2 separate regions of the Homo sapiens genome follow, and region 2 is linked to region 1. The links are contacts of gene promoters, found by promoter capture Hi-C in blood cells and fetal thymus (Javierre and others, 2016). All regions are on one chromosome and are shown on one strand. Each heading gives the region's core, a stretch centred on a gene start or on the middle of the fragment in contact. The rest is flanking DNA. Distances are from core to core; before and after follow the strand shown.

Region 1 (6,725 bases), core at 2,473-4,972:
TCTCAATTCTGCCAAGTTAAGGACACCATATATATTTTTGGGACAAAATGCAAAATAAGAATAAGCCATGTGCAACTGTATAATGTCACTGTCCTAGAAAAAGTACATGTGCTAGTCTTTAAATATATCAGCTTTGAAATGCCACTTATGGATTGTTTCTATGGTACCAACCTATTTAAAGTTGTAACTAAGTGACGATATTTTTTTCCCGAAATCTTTTGTAGGCAATATGGAAAGTGTGCTGTATGGCATAGGCTGTAGAAATAAGAGGTTAGGAATGTGGACTCTGGGGTTATAACAAACTACCTTAGAAGGCTGAAGAATCAAAGAGATGATGTCTGCAGAGTTTGGCTCTGTGGCCCTGAACACACAGGAATCATGATGTGGGACCCCATGCATGGTTTTGCAAAGAAAGCACCTGCCTGGGAGTTTGAGCTCCTGGGTTTCAGGCCTGGCCCTGTCCTTAAACTCACTGTGTGGTGCTGGCACCTCCACTCTGCCAGGGGCTCCCCCACCGCCTCAGCTGCGAAAAGAGAGGTATAGACCCATGAGTGCTGGAGGGCCCTGCCAGACTCCTTCTGCCCAAGGAGCCTTGTTGCTTTGGCAACCCCTTCTGCGAAGGCCACATGTCTGAGCACCTCATTGGGAATGTAGAAATGAGTGTGGATGTTCCCAAATCTCAAAGCAATGTTTTTGTTTTTTTTTTTCCCCTCTAGGAAATGACAGGAGATCACGATAGATATGAGACCTTGAACCTAAAGCTCTGGTTGCCTTGTAAAACTTTTCCTTGTTTTTCAAAGGCTGGGCATTTGATCCCAGAAATCCTGAAAAACCATGGATTTTTGAGACTGAAAGGGGTATGACATTGGGTTTTTAAAAATGAAGGCTGGCGCAGTGGCTCACGCCTGTAATCCCAGCACTTTGGGAGGCCAAGGCAGGTGGATCACGAGGTCAGGAGTTCGAAACCAGCTTGGCCAACATGTTGAAACCCCATCTCTAATAAAAATACAAAAAGTAGCCAGGCGTGGTGGCGCACACCTGTAATCCCAGCTACTCAGGAGGCTGAGACAGGAGAATTGCTTGAACCCAGGAAGCATATGTTGCAGTGAGCTGAGATCGTGCCACTGCACTCCAGCCTGGGTGACACAGTGAGACTCTGTCTGGGGGAAAAAAAAATTAAAACAAATAAAAAAACAAAAATTAGCTGGGCGTGGCGGCGTAACGCCAGCTACTCGAGAGGCTGAGGCATGAGAATCACTACAGCTGCGCCTGTAATGACAGCTACTCGGGAGGCTGAGGCATGAGAATCACTTGAATCTGGGAGGTAGAGGTTGCAAATGAGCGAAGATTGTGCTGCTGCACTCTAGCCTGGGCGACAGAGTGAGACTCTGTCTCAATAAATAAATAAATAAATAAATAAGAATATAGCCACAATCCTTTAGAAAGCTCTTACCATGCCAGGAGCTTTACATGCACTAATTATCACTTTCTGTTTTTGTTTTTCTCTAAACAACTCTCTTAGATCAGTACTGTCACTATCCCCAATCTACAGATGGAAAAATTGAGGTGTAGAGAGGTGAAGCAACCTGCCCTCGGGCCCATACCTAAGAAGTAGCAAAGTCGAGATTTGGATCCTTGAAGTTTTTACTCCAGAGCTTTCATTTTAAGAAATTGCAAAAAAGTTATTAAGTACAGAGAGAAACATTTTCCCTGTAATAATTTGAAATTAAGGTGACCATTTGATGCCTTATCCCCTGCCAAATACATTGATTTACTTTCCAGCAAACAAGAACATCCTCTGATGTAACTTAACAGGCAACCATGAAAATCAGGAAATTAACACGGACACATCATTACCACGGCATTGTAGGCCCCATTTAAACTTTTCCAACTGTCCCTGTAACTTCCTTTCAAGCAAAAAGATCCAGTTCAGAATCATGTGTTGTGTTTAGTTGTCATGCCTCTTTGGTCCCCTCCAGTTTGGAACAGTTCCAGGGTCTATCTTTGATTTTCATGACCTTGGCACTTTCTAAGATTACAGTTTTGTATACAGCATGTCTCTTTACGTGGGTTTGTCTGATATATCCTCATGATTACATCCAGGTTATGGATCTTCAGCAGGAATATCACAGGGGTGATGTTGCAATCTTCTCAGGGCATCCTATCAAGTGCCACATAACTTCACTTTGTCCCATTCCTGACAATGCAGACTCTGATCACTAAATCAGAGCCTGCACTCTTAACTACTCCATGACAGTCCACAAAGGTCCCTTCTTCAGAAGCCACAAAGTGAGTTCCATTTGGTGAAGTAAATCCACTAGCATCAGTCCCTCATGATCAAAGTAATTGCAGCTCCATAAAATCTGCTGTAAAGCCATAAACATAGCTACAGAAAAGCCAAGCGTATGTATGCTTTTGGCTTTTGGGCTACAAACAGATGTAAATACATTCAGGCACAGACTAAAAACACTTTTCTCCTCTGTTTCCCTTACTCTGCTCCTGGCAGGGCTTGTAGTCTGTTAGACCCTCTCTCCCGGCCTTCAATGCTAAAACCACATTTTCCATTTCTTTCCTGAGTACATACTATGTGTCAGGCACAATGATTCTACATGTCACTAAGAATACAGAGATCATTAAGACACAGTCATCATTCCTAAGCAGCCCACATTTAACTGGGTACACAAAAATTGTTGTTTAATTCTTAACAACTACTTGATGGTAGACTTAAGTATTTGACTCCAAGTCCCGTGCTCTTTTTACATTCCAACAATTGCCTCTTGAATCTTTTCATCACATAGAGCAGAGAGAGAAAAATTAAGCAAAAATTAATAGCTAACACTTCTTCAGCACCTACTGTTACCAGGTACGGTTTTCATTGCCTACAGTTTTATCTTATTGAATCCTTAACCATTTTGCAGAAGAGAAAACAGGCTTAGATGTAATGACTTGCCCAAGGTCCACAGCTGCTAAATTGCACTCAAGGTTGGAACTCCAGAGCCTGTGGACACTTAAATGTCTACAAGGAGTCCTTGGGCTAGTGAGGGCTTCCCAGGGAGGGCCCATGACTGTTCTGCTCATTGTATCACATTGGCCTAGCACAGGTGAGGGGCACTTAGTATATTTTAATTAGATCAATGAATAAATTAATGAATTTACCAACCTGCTGGAAACGAAAAGAATGGAAACAGCTCCTGGAGAGAATACTTGGGAACTCCAGAGTTTGCCCATTCATTCCTTCATTCCCTCTTAAACTCCTGCATAAAGGCCACTGCCCTGTGCCCACGACGGTGCTTATACCGAGAGCGTCAAAGATACAGGAATCACAGTCTTGACCTTCATTATTCCCATTTGAATGCTGTGTCCCAGGCCCCTTATTGTCTCACAGTATTTACCACAACTACCGTATGGGCTAATCCTACATCTCTATTTTACAGATTTACAATCTCAGAGTGGTAAAGTCTCCTTAGGCCAAGGTGGCTCAGCGGATTCCACACCAGTCATCACAGGCTGAGCGTCACAGTACAAAGCAGGAGCGGCAGGGAGGCCGATTCCGCGGGGAAACCACTCCCCAGCTATTCTAGGCCTTGCAAATCCACCCCTCCTATCTAAGATCCCAGCCGGCCGCTCTGCAGCCATATCCGCCGTAGCGTCCCACGCTGCCCTGGCAGCCAGCAGGACATCCGCTGTCGACTAACGTCATTTCCGGCGCGCCGGCCACGGTGCTTCCGGGTTCTGGTGTAGGAGCGGCGTCTTCTCGCGCGGATGGTGAAGCTGAATTTGGTACGCTGGACCCTCGGACAGGTGAGCACGGCTGGCCACAAGGGGACTCAGCGCCAGTGAGAGTAGGGACGAAGGCTCAGGGAAGGCGAGCTTCGGTCCAAGCCGTTGGGGTGTGGGGAGGGGAATCCATTTCGTAGACAGCTCTGCCGAGGCACGGAGAGGGGCGGTGCTGCTTGGGGTCAACTGGGATTTAGGGCTTGGATTCATTTAAGAACCTGAGCTTCCTTCACCAAACCTAGACAGCAAGAGAGAGACAAGCCCGAGGCCTGACTTCTAGCACTCCTGAGTTTGAGCCCTATGAGCAGTGGAACCTAGGGTAAGTTACTAACTTCTCTGAACCTCCTTTTTCTTATCTGAAGCATGAAAACTAACGGTACCTACCTTGCAGAAGTGTCTTGATGCAGACAGTTGATAATCGGTCTCAAGCGACCAGCATGTACCTAGCATCTACTGATAAAGGCTTCATAACTTGTGACTACTCGGGGCTTATTACCATTTACTATGCCCACGCAGGCAGTGGTATTATTTAACTTTATGTATTTGAGATTCCCCGTCTTTTCTGAAAATCCTTCTGTCCTAAACACTCCTGGAAGAGGTTGGGACCCGTTGCACCCAACCGGTGCACCAGTGAGTAGAAGAAGGCAGAGATAACGTTTTGCCAGAGGTGACCAGAGTTTGACACTGCCTGTGGAAGTAGTGAACTCCGTGTGCCTTAAGGCCGCTTTCAGCAAGACAAGAATCACAATTGCTGTCACCTATGGAGTGTATTATTGTGTAGTGCACCATGCTTGGCGCTTCACGTGCATATTTAATTCTCATACACTGGGTATCTGATAGAGTTGAATTTGAACTCAGGCTTCGATTTTAGCCTGCCTGATTTTACAGTCACTTTGCTAAGTTTACTCCCTAGTCCCATAATAATAATGATGATTGTGATGGTAAATACTGAGTGTCAACTTGATTGGATTGAAGGATACGAAGTATTGATCCTGGGTGTGACTATGTGGGTGTTGCCAAAGGAGATTAACATTTGAGTCTGTGGGTGGGGAAAGGCAGACCCACCCTCAATTCAATCTGTGTGGGCATAATCTAATCAGCTGCCAGCACGGCAAGAATATAAGCAGGCAGAAAAATGTGAAAAGAGAGACTGGCCTAGCCTCCCAGCCTATATCTTTCTCCTGTGCTGGATGCTTCCTGCCCTCGAACATTGGACTTCAAGTTCTTCAGCTTTGGAACTTGACTGGCTCTCCTTGCTCCTCAGCCTGCAGACAGCCTATTGTGGGACCTTTTGATCGTGTGAGTTAATAGTTAATAAGCTCCCCTTTATATATGTATGTCTATTCCATTAGTTATGTCGCTCTAGAGAACCCTGACTAATACAATGATTAACCTAATCATGGGACTAAAGTAGAAGCTATCGTTTCTTGAGCACTTATTTTGAACTCATTGAATTTGCTTTGTAAGCCTTCTCTAAGGTTGGTATGGTAGTTAATCCCAATTTAAGAAAGACAACTGAATCTGGTCACCCAGCTACTGTGAGGTAGATTCTCTATATCAATCTCTGGACATCTGACTATTAAAATAGTGTTCATAATTACTACAGTCTTTCAGTTCATCAGAAGAAATTCATGTTTTGTGAGGAAAACTGAAAATTTTGTTTCATCAAGTAATGTATTTCAAAAAGCATATTCTAAAAAAAATCACTCTCCTAGGACCACCAAGGATCCAGATATAATTCTTTCCTCAGTAATAGAAAAAAGAATCTGGGATCTAAGAAGATACCTACTCATTTTCTAAGGTAATAATGTACAAAATAACCTACTTAGTTATTTTTGTGTGGTTTGTGTATGTGTGAATATGTGTGATATTTATGATATTGACTAGGACAAGGAGATATGTACTTTTAAAGAATCATAGACTGTTAGGAGTAGTATTTTGTTCACCTGTTTTAGTACTGATTGTTATCTAAAAGTAGGTTTTTAATATCTTTTTTATTGAATAGTAATGCTGACTTTAATGGACTTTGAATTTGGAGAAAGTTCTGAAAGCAGCAAGGAATAGAGACTCACAAGGAATCCTTCGACTGCTGCCCCCAGGACTTACGGCCTGTGCTCTTTTTGTCTCTTCCTTTAGTGACTGGCCATGTCATTGTCCCACTTATACCGGGATGGGGAAGGCCGCATTGATGATGATGATGACGAGCGGGAGAACTTTGAGATCACTGACTGGGATCTCCAGAATGAGTTCAACCCCAACCGACAGCGCCACTGGCAGACCAAGGAAGAAGCCACCTACGGGGTGTGGGCAGAGCGAGACTCGGATGATGAGAGGCCCAGCTTTGGAGGCAAACGGTATTGCCTGGCATGGGGGCTGCTTCACCTTGCTTTAGGGAAGAGGGGGAAGATGGACAGGGAGTGGAGGAGATACCCTGATAAGTATACTTCTCACCTGGCCTTGTTGAGACTGTTAGCTGTGACATCATCTCGAGAGGTCTGGTTTCCTCTTTAGGCTAGAGTGCTGCTCTTTCACTGATTTATTCTATTTATTATTATTTTTTTTGAGACACGGTTTCACTTTGTTGCCCAGGTTGGAGTGCAGTGACGTGCTCTTGGCTAGCTGCAACCTCCACCTTCCAGGTTTAAGTGATTCCCGTGCCTCAGCCTCCCGAGTAGGTGGGATTACAAGCAAACGCCACCACCTCCAGCTAATGTTTGTATTATTAGTAGAGACGGGGTTTTGCCATGTTGGCCAGGCTGGTCTTGAACTCCTGACCTCAAGTGATCCACCCACCTCAGCCTCCCAAAGTGCTGGGATTACAGGCGTGAGCCACCACGCCTGGCCTCACTGATTTAATTATCAGTGTTTATTGAGCGATTGCTATGTATTAGGCCTGTGCTATAGACCCATTCTTGCCTTCCTAGAGCCCAGACATTAGAAGATGGAAA
Region 2 (6,725 bases), core at 1,612-4,111, 170 kb before region 1:
AATAACACAGATCCTATTCCTGTCTTCAGGGAGAGAATAACCCAATGCTATAAAATAGGAAGGGCATGAAAAAAATCACTGGATTCATGATATTAGTGTATAATTATTAAGCGGGAAAGTTGGTAAGCTCTCTGAGCAGTAGACCTTGTAAAAACAGGTATTATACCAAAACATAGAGAAAGAGGGACCTGTGTTTGTTTAACTTTGATAAACTGGTTCAATGAAATGTCATGGGTGTCTTTGTTGCAGGACTTTTTAGTGCCTTTAATGTGATAATGTGCCTTGTGTATCTCTAATCTGGCTGGTTGTCAGGATTCTCTCTGAAGCTTCTCAAAAGAACGAATATGCCACAGGAATCAGAATCCCCAGAAGTCAGGCTCAGGAAACTGCAGTGTTAAAACACCTCCCAGGCTGATTTTTTATGGTCAGCTAACTTGACCTAGAGATTCGAATTTGGGACTATAGGAATTTCCCAAGGTTTCCTGACTCCTGAATATATCTGTTGGTACCTGTTGAAACTCTCCAGCATGCATATAAATAATTATATTTATTTCCCTGTTGCAATCCACTCCTCATTGGAAAATCTGCTGTGGGAATCTCAGTTCAATCCAGATGTGTACATTAAGGGGAGCCTGGTGCACCTTTCGCCACCACTAGCCCAATGGGAGAAGACAAATATCCCTGAACGCTTCAAAGCAGATCATGCACCTTGGTCCACTGGGATTTCTCCATTGCAGAGCCTCTTTTGGAAGATATGGTTTTGCCCTGGGTTTTCCTAAGGATGGAATGGCTACAGAGAACCCACTAATGAGATGTCTCCAGAAGCTGGAGCTGGGGCTGTCTGGGTGGGTCCTGGGAGTCCTGAAGCAATCAGAAAGCAGTGAGTGGGTTCTAGAAGGAGATGGTTTTTGAAGGTGGGGGAGACTTGGTCAAGACTCAACTCTTGGTTCTGTCTGTTCTCTACAGGACTTCAAGAGGCTGATCACCAATCTGAAGATTGACTTCTTCCCAGGGTCCCCACTGGCTACCTCATTATCTTTCAACAGCCTCATGCTGATATCTACAGCAAAGCAGCACACCTCTTTTTTTTTTTTTCTTGAGACGGAGTCTCGCTCTGTCGCCCAGGCTGGAGTGCAGTGGCGCGATCTCGGCTCACTGCAAGCTCCGCCTCCCGGGTTCACGCCATTTTCCTGCCTTCGCGCCATTCTCCTGCCTCAGCCTCCTGTGTAGCTGGGATTACAGGCGCCCACCACCACACCCGGCTAATTTTTTGTAGAGACGGGTATTCACCATGTTAGCCAGGATGGTCTGGATCTCCTGACCTTGTGATCCGCTCACCTCGGCCTTCCAAAGTGCTGGGATTACAGGCGTGAGCCACCACGCCCGGCCACACCTCTTTTTAAGAGACAACATGGGGTGCTCAGCAATCATGGAATTTGCCAAAATAATTAAATACAACCCCCAATTCTTCTCTGGACAAGTTATCCAACATATCTGAGCCTCGGTTTCCTCATCTGTAAACTAATAAAATAAAATCTACCTCCCAGCCTGGTAAACATTAAATACATGACATTGCAAAGCACCTAACACACAGTAGGCCTTCAATAAATGTGAGTTATTTTTTCTTCCTTGTTTCTTTCTTCCCCCAAAAGGCTTTGCATCTGAGAGTCAGCAGAAAGAGGATAGTTTTTCATTGGCCTGCAGTGTGACATTGGACATCTCTTGGGCTCTAAATTCACTGGGATACTTTTGGTTGAAAGTAACAGACTCATTCAAATTAGCCCAAGCAAGGGAGGTAGGGGGAAGAATAATTATTACAAAGATGCAGAGATAACTCAGAGAACCAAGGAGCTGGAATGCAGTCAGGTTTCAGGAGTGGCCTGGAAACAGGAACTGAGATGTACCAGGAAATCTAAGATGTACTACTTTCTGTATCCCTCATCCTTTCTCCTCTCTCAGCACCACTTTCATTCATAACTAGTTCCCTGTTTACAGTACAAACAATGGCCATCAACTCCCCTAAATACTCAAGTTGGCCAGTAGGACCCCTTCCCTTAAACCTAATTCCATACTAAGGAAGATCTACATTGGCCCAGCTTGGATTGGGCTCTACTCCTAGTCCAATCAACAACATCTGGGGTAGAGCCAAGAGGCTTTCATTGGCTTGGCTTAAGATGGGCTCTACCCCTTGTCCAATCAACAGTGTCCACAGGTGGGGTCGTGAGGCTTTCATTGGCCCAGTTTGGGTTGGGCCCTTCTCCTAATCCAATCAACCACATCCAGAGGTGGTGCCATAAGGTTTTCATTGGTTTGGCTTAAGATTGGCTCTACCCCTTGTCCAATCAACAGTGTCCACAAGTGGTGCCTTGATGCTTTCATTGTCCCAGCTTGGGTCGGGACCTACCCCTGGTCCAATCAAGAGCATCCAAGAATGGAGCCATTGGCTTAAGATGGGCTCTACCCCAGTTCAATAAGCAGCAGCCAGGAATGGGGCCATGTTACACAAATATGGTGGCTTCTACTGTAGCTGTGCGGATGGAGAAAGTAAAGGACAGTCTTCAGAAAAGGGCAGCTGGGTGTGCCAAACAATAAGTGACTTGCTGAAAGCAATGAGAAATAATACCTGCCCTCAAGGAACTCATAGTTCCAAGGGAGTTTCAGACCCAGAGACAGATAAACACCATTCCTACTCAGAAAAGGCCGTTACATTGGTATGACCCAGAGACATCCACATAACCAGGGTTTGACGGGAGAAGTTCCCAGAAGCTGCACCAACTGCCTCCCCAAAGCCATCCTAGCACCTGATGAGCTAATTAATCACAATTATTATTGATGGCAGTGCCAATCCACCTGCTCGTGTCACAAGACATTAGTTATTGCCAGGAATGATGAATCCCAGGATGTAGAACATGCTAAAAATATTAATCTACCAGTGAAAATGATTTTAATTGGATTTCGCCCTTGGGGTCATGTCAGAGGCCCGCTTTCAATCAGACTTCTCCAGTCAGCAAAGCAGACCCCAGCCTTTCAAATTGAAACTGTGATTGGCTGGCAGAGGTTAATAGAAATGTTGGGAAATAAATAGGTTATTGATTGATCATAACAATCAGCCGGCTCCCAGCTTACCTTGTTGACCTCGCCCACCCAATTTTACGGCAAACGCGGTTAGCATCTAATTATAGATCACCTTTACAATACTGTGTATTAATGAGAAGATTATACAGTGGGGCATAGGGGAATTCTTACTGGAGAAGTTTCCCAGTGGCAGAAAAATTTGGTGAGACCTCTTGTCGAACATGGGGACCATCAGCGAGTGTGGGGGATTCTAGGAAGAATAAAATGACTCTCCCCACATCCCTGCCTAAAACCTCATTCATTCAAGCAACATGCATTTATTGAGCGTAAGATTTGCACAGGGGACCGTGGTACGTGGTGCTGTATCCGATGCAGTCCCTCTGCTTAGGAACTCACTCTGTAATGCACTGGTTCTAAAACATCTGCGAGCCCAAGAATCATTTGCCAGATGAAAGACAGATTCAGCCAGACATCGTGGGTCACGCCTGTAATCCCAGCACTTCGGGAGGCCAAGGCAGGAGGATGGCTTGAGAACAGGAGCTTAAAACCAGCCTGGGCAACCTAGCAAGATCCCATCTCTACAAAAAATAAAAATAGCCAGAAATGCTGGCCCGTGCTTATAGTCCCTGCTATTCAGAGGCTGAGGCAGGAAGATCCCTTGTGCCCAGGAGTTCAAGGTTACAATGAGCTATGATTGTGCCACTGCACTCCAGTCTGGATGACAGAGTGAGATCCTGTCTCAAAAAAAAAAAAAAAAAAAAAAACAGAGACGCAGATTCCTGGGCCGACACACTGAGATTCTGATTCAGAGGGGTCTGTATTTTTAACCCATTCCACCTTGAAAACTATGATGTGGTTGGAGGGCCTCATTTCGAGACACATTGGCCTGATCAGGAAGAAAGATCTACACAAAGAAAATTACAAATCAGTGTCTTGGGTGTTTGGATTAAAGTTTATCCAGAGTCCAGCCAGACATAAGGAACGTGAGGTCAGCTGAACCTGGAAGCCTTCATAAAGCAGGTGAGGTTCACACCGAGCAGGAATATCCAAGGTGAACTTGAAGAACAGTTTGCCCTCATAAAAGGATACTTTTAATGGGCACTAATGGTGTGCACAGCAGTGTTATCTGCCCCACCAGGGAGAGAAGGGGTGTCTGCCTCTCTCTTTCAAAGTACTAACAACCTGGTTGCTTTCTCAATTCCAAGTGGCCCCTCACCATGCACAAACCCTTTACTGGTTTGTTTGTTTTTTTTTAAGAGACAGGGTCTCACTCACTCACCCAGGCTGGAATCAGTGGCATGATCATAGCTCACTGCAGCCTCGAACTCCTGGGCTCAAGCGATCTTCCTGCCTCAGCCTCCCGAGTAGCTGGGACCACAGGTGTGCCTCACTATGCCTAGCTAATTTTTTTACTTTTATTTTTTTATTTCGTAGAGACAGGGTCTCACTGTTTTGCCCAGGCTGGTCTTGAACTCCTGTCCTCAAGCGAACCTCCCACCTCAACCTCCCAAATTGCTGAGATTACAGGTGTGAGACATCATTTGTTGAACCAATATGGAGAGGCGGTGAAGGTGGCAGAGATGGGAAAACAGGGTAAAATGACTTGCCATAGGTCATACAGCCCTGGTACATCTAGATAAGAACACAAGTCCAATGTCAACACACTACGGTGTTGCTGCCGCCTTATTTGTGGGGACAGCCCTTCTGAAGAGGATGAAGTTGCTGGGGAGGTAGGGCACAGCTAGGATTGGAGGGCCTGAACAAATGGTTCAATCCCAGCTTTTAACACAGTGCTGGGAAGGCCTCACTCAGGCAGTCAGACTGGGCTTCTGGCAGACTTTCAGGATGCTGAAGTGAGTCTGTGAAGGCAGATCCTCACCTCAGAATTAAGGAGGGAACTGCCTTTTAAAGAATAACAGACAGAAGTGTCTGGAAGTCACAGGCACAGGGTAGCTGGTCCACAGTGGAGACAGAGGAGTCTCAGCCCCACAACACCAGTGTGGATGGTGTCTTTGATAAATGCAGTTTCTCACCTGGACTCCTCCACAGCCTCCGCCCCAGGCTTCCTGCTTCCCCGTCCCCCTCCAATCCATTCTGCACCCAGCAGCTGGAAGCCAGTGTTTACAGCATAAATCAGAGGTGTCACTCTGCAGTACAAAACCCTCCAATGGCTTCCAAATATACTTAGAGTCAAATCAGATTCCTTATTGTGGCTCAGCAGGCCCTGAGTTATCCAACCCTGGCTTGCCCCTTCAACATTACATCCCACCAGCCTCTTATGCTCTGGCCTTACCTCTGTCCCTTCAGCATGGCAAGCTTTATCCCCACCTCAGTACCTTTGCCCCTGCTGTTCCCCCTGCTGACACTTTCTCCTAATGTCGCATGGCTGACTCCATCTTAACAGCTCAAATGCCACCTCCTCTGAGAGGCCCTCTCTGACCACCGCCTGATCTTGCCCATCCTCCACTCCACCCGGGCCATCCTGTCCCACTGTCCTGCCGTACTTCTTTTCATAGCAATAAACAGTGGTAGAAAGGATTTAACTTTCTTGTTTCTATACTGAATGCCTGTCTCCCCCACTGGACTGAGAATTCCATGAGGACAGACATTTAGTTTCTTCTCACCACTCTATTCTAGGTGCCTAGCACAGAGCCTGGCACATGGACAGTGTCAATGCATATCTGATCTACTACTGAATCCAAATCTAAAGTCTAGATGGGGAAAAAAAAATAAACAGGACCTGCTTGCCCAGAGACCAAAGCAGTGAGTGAACTCGCTCAGGCTTAGTCAAGGAGGGTGTTATGCATAGACAAGATGTAGTGACCGGAGGGGTCTTATCCTGGGCTCATGTGGGGAAAAAAGGGAACAGTCCAGGCAAAAACAAATGAAGGGCTCAGAGACACAGCACTGGAGGTGAAGGAAACTGAACACTGATGATTTTTCTTATTCCGTACATCATTCATATATCAAGATTCCCGTTTTCCTTATGAAACTGTGAGGCTGGTGAGAAAGCTGCCACAGCTGTCCAAAACAGAAGGCTGGTGGTTTGGACTGGGGCAATGTCAGGGGGATAGAATAAAGTGAGAAGAGATATTTAGGGCCGAATGTGGTGGCTCATGCCTATAATCCCAGCACTTTGGGAGGCAGAGGCGGGCATATCACTTGAGGTCAGGAGTTCGAGACAAGCCCAGCCAACATGGTGAAACCCTGTCTCTACTAAAAACACAAAAATTAGCCAGGCGTAGTGGCGGGAGGCAGGAGAATCGGTTGAACCCAGGGGGCGGAGATTGCAGTGAGCCGAGATGGTGCCACTGCACTCCAGCCTGGGCGACAGAGTGAAACTCTGTCTCAAAAGAAAAAAAAAAGAAGGCCAGGCGCGGTGGCTCACGCCTGTAATCCCAGCACTTTGGGAGGCTGAGGCAGGCGGATCATGAGGTCAGGAGATCGAGACCATCCTGGCTAACACGGTGAAACCCCGTCTCTTCTAAAAATACAAAAAATTAGCTGGGCGTGGTGCCGGGTACCTGTAGTCCCAGCTACTCGGGAGGCTGAGGCAGGAGAATGGCATGAACCCGGGAGGCAGAGCTTGCAGCGAGCCGAGATAGAGATAGCGCCACTGCAGTCAGGCCTGGGCGAAAGAGCAAGACTCC

The links. The method cuts DNA at HindIII sites, captures the fragments that hold promoters and counts their contacts. A CHiCAGO score of 5 or more calls a contact.
Region 2: a fragment that was not itself captured here is called in contact with the fragment with the promoter of TFIP11 in region 1 in 1 of 17 cell types (neutrophils); the score reaches 5.2 in neutrophils.

Annotation. Positions count from the first base shown.
Region 1 is chr22:26,509,470-26,516,194 of GRCh38, reverse strand. It overlaps TFIP11 (tuftelin interacting protein 11), which reads left to right and starts at 3,722. Exons shown (of 15, transcript NM_012143.4): 1 at 3,722-3,801; 2 at 4,020-4,096; 3 at 5,493-5,578; 4 at 5,914-6,131. The coding sequence starts at 5,923. It overlaps TFIP11-DT (TFIP11 divergent transcript), which reads right to left and starts at 3,663. Exons shown (of 2, transcript NR_144529.1): 1 at 3,161-3,663; 2 at 1,627-2,783. RefSeq lists enhancers at 2,900-3,437, 3,660-3,839. The HindIII fragment of the contact is 18,663 bases long and covers 1-6,725 here.
Region 2 is chr22:26,682,816-26,689,540 of GRCh38, reverse strand. The region is part of intron 1 of MIATNB (MIAT neighbor); the gene reads right to left. Among named protein-coding and RNA genes, the nearest start is that of MIATNB, 13 kb to the right of the region's middle. The HindIII fragment of the contact is 5,065 bases long and covers 329-5,393 here.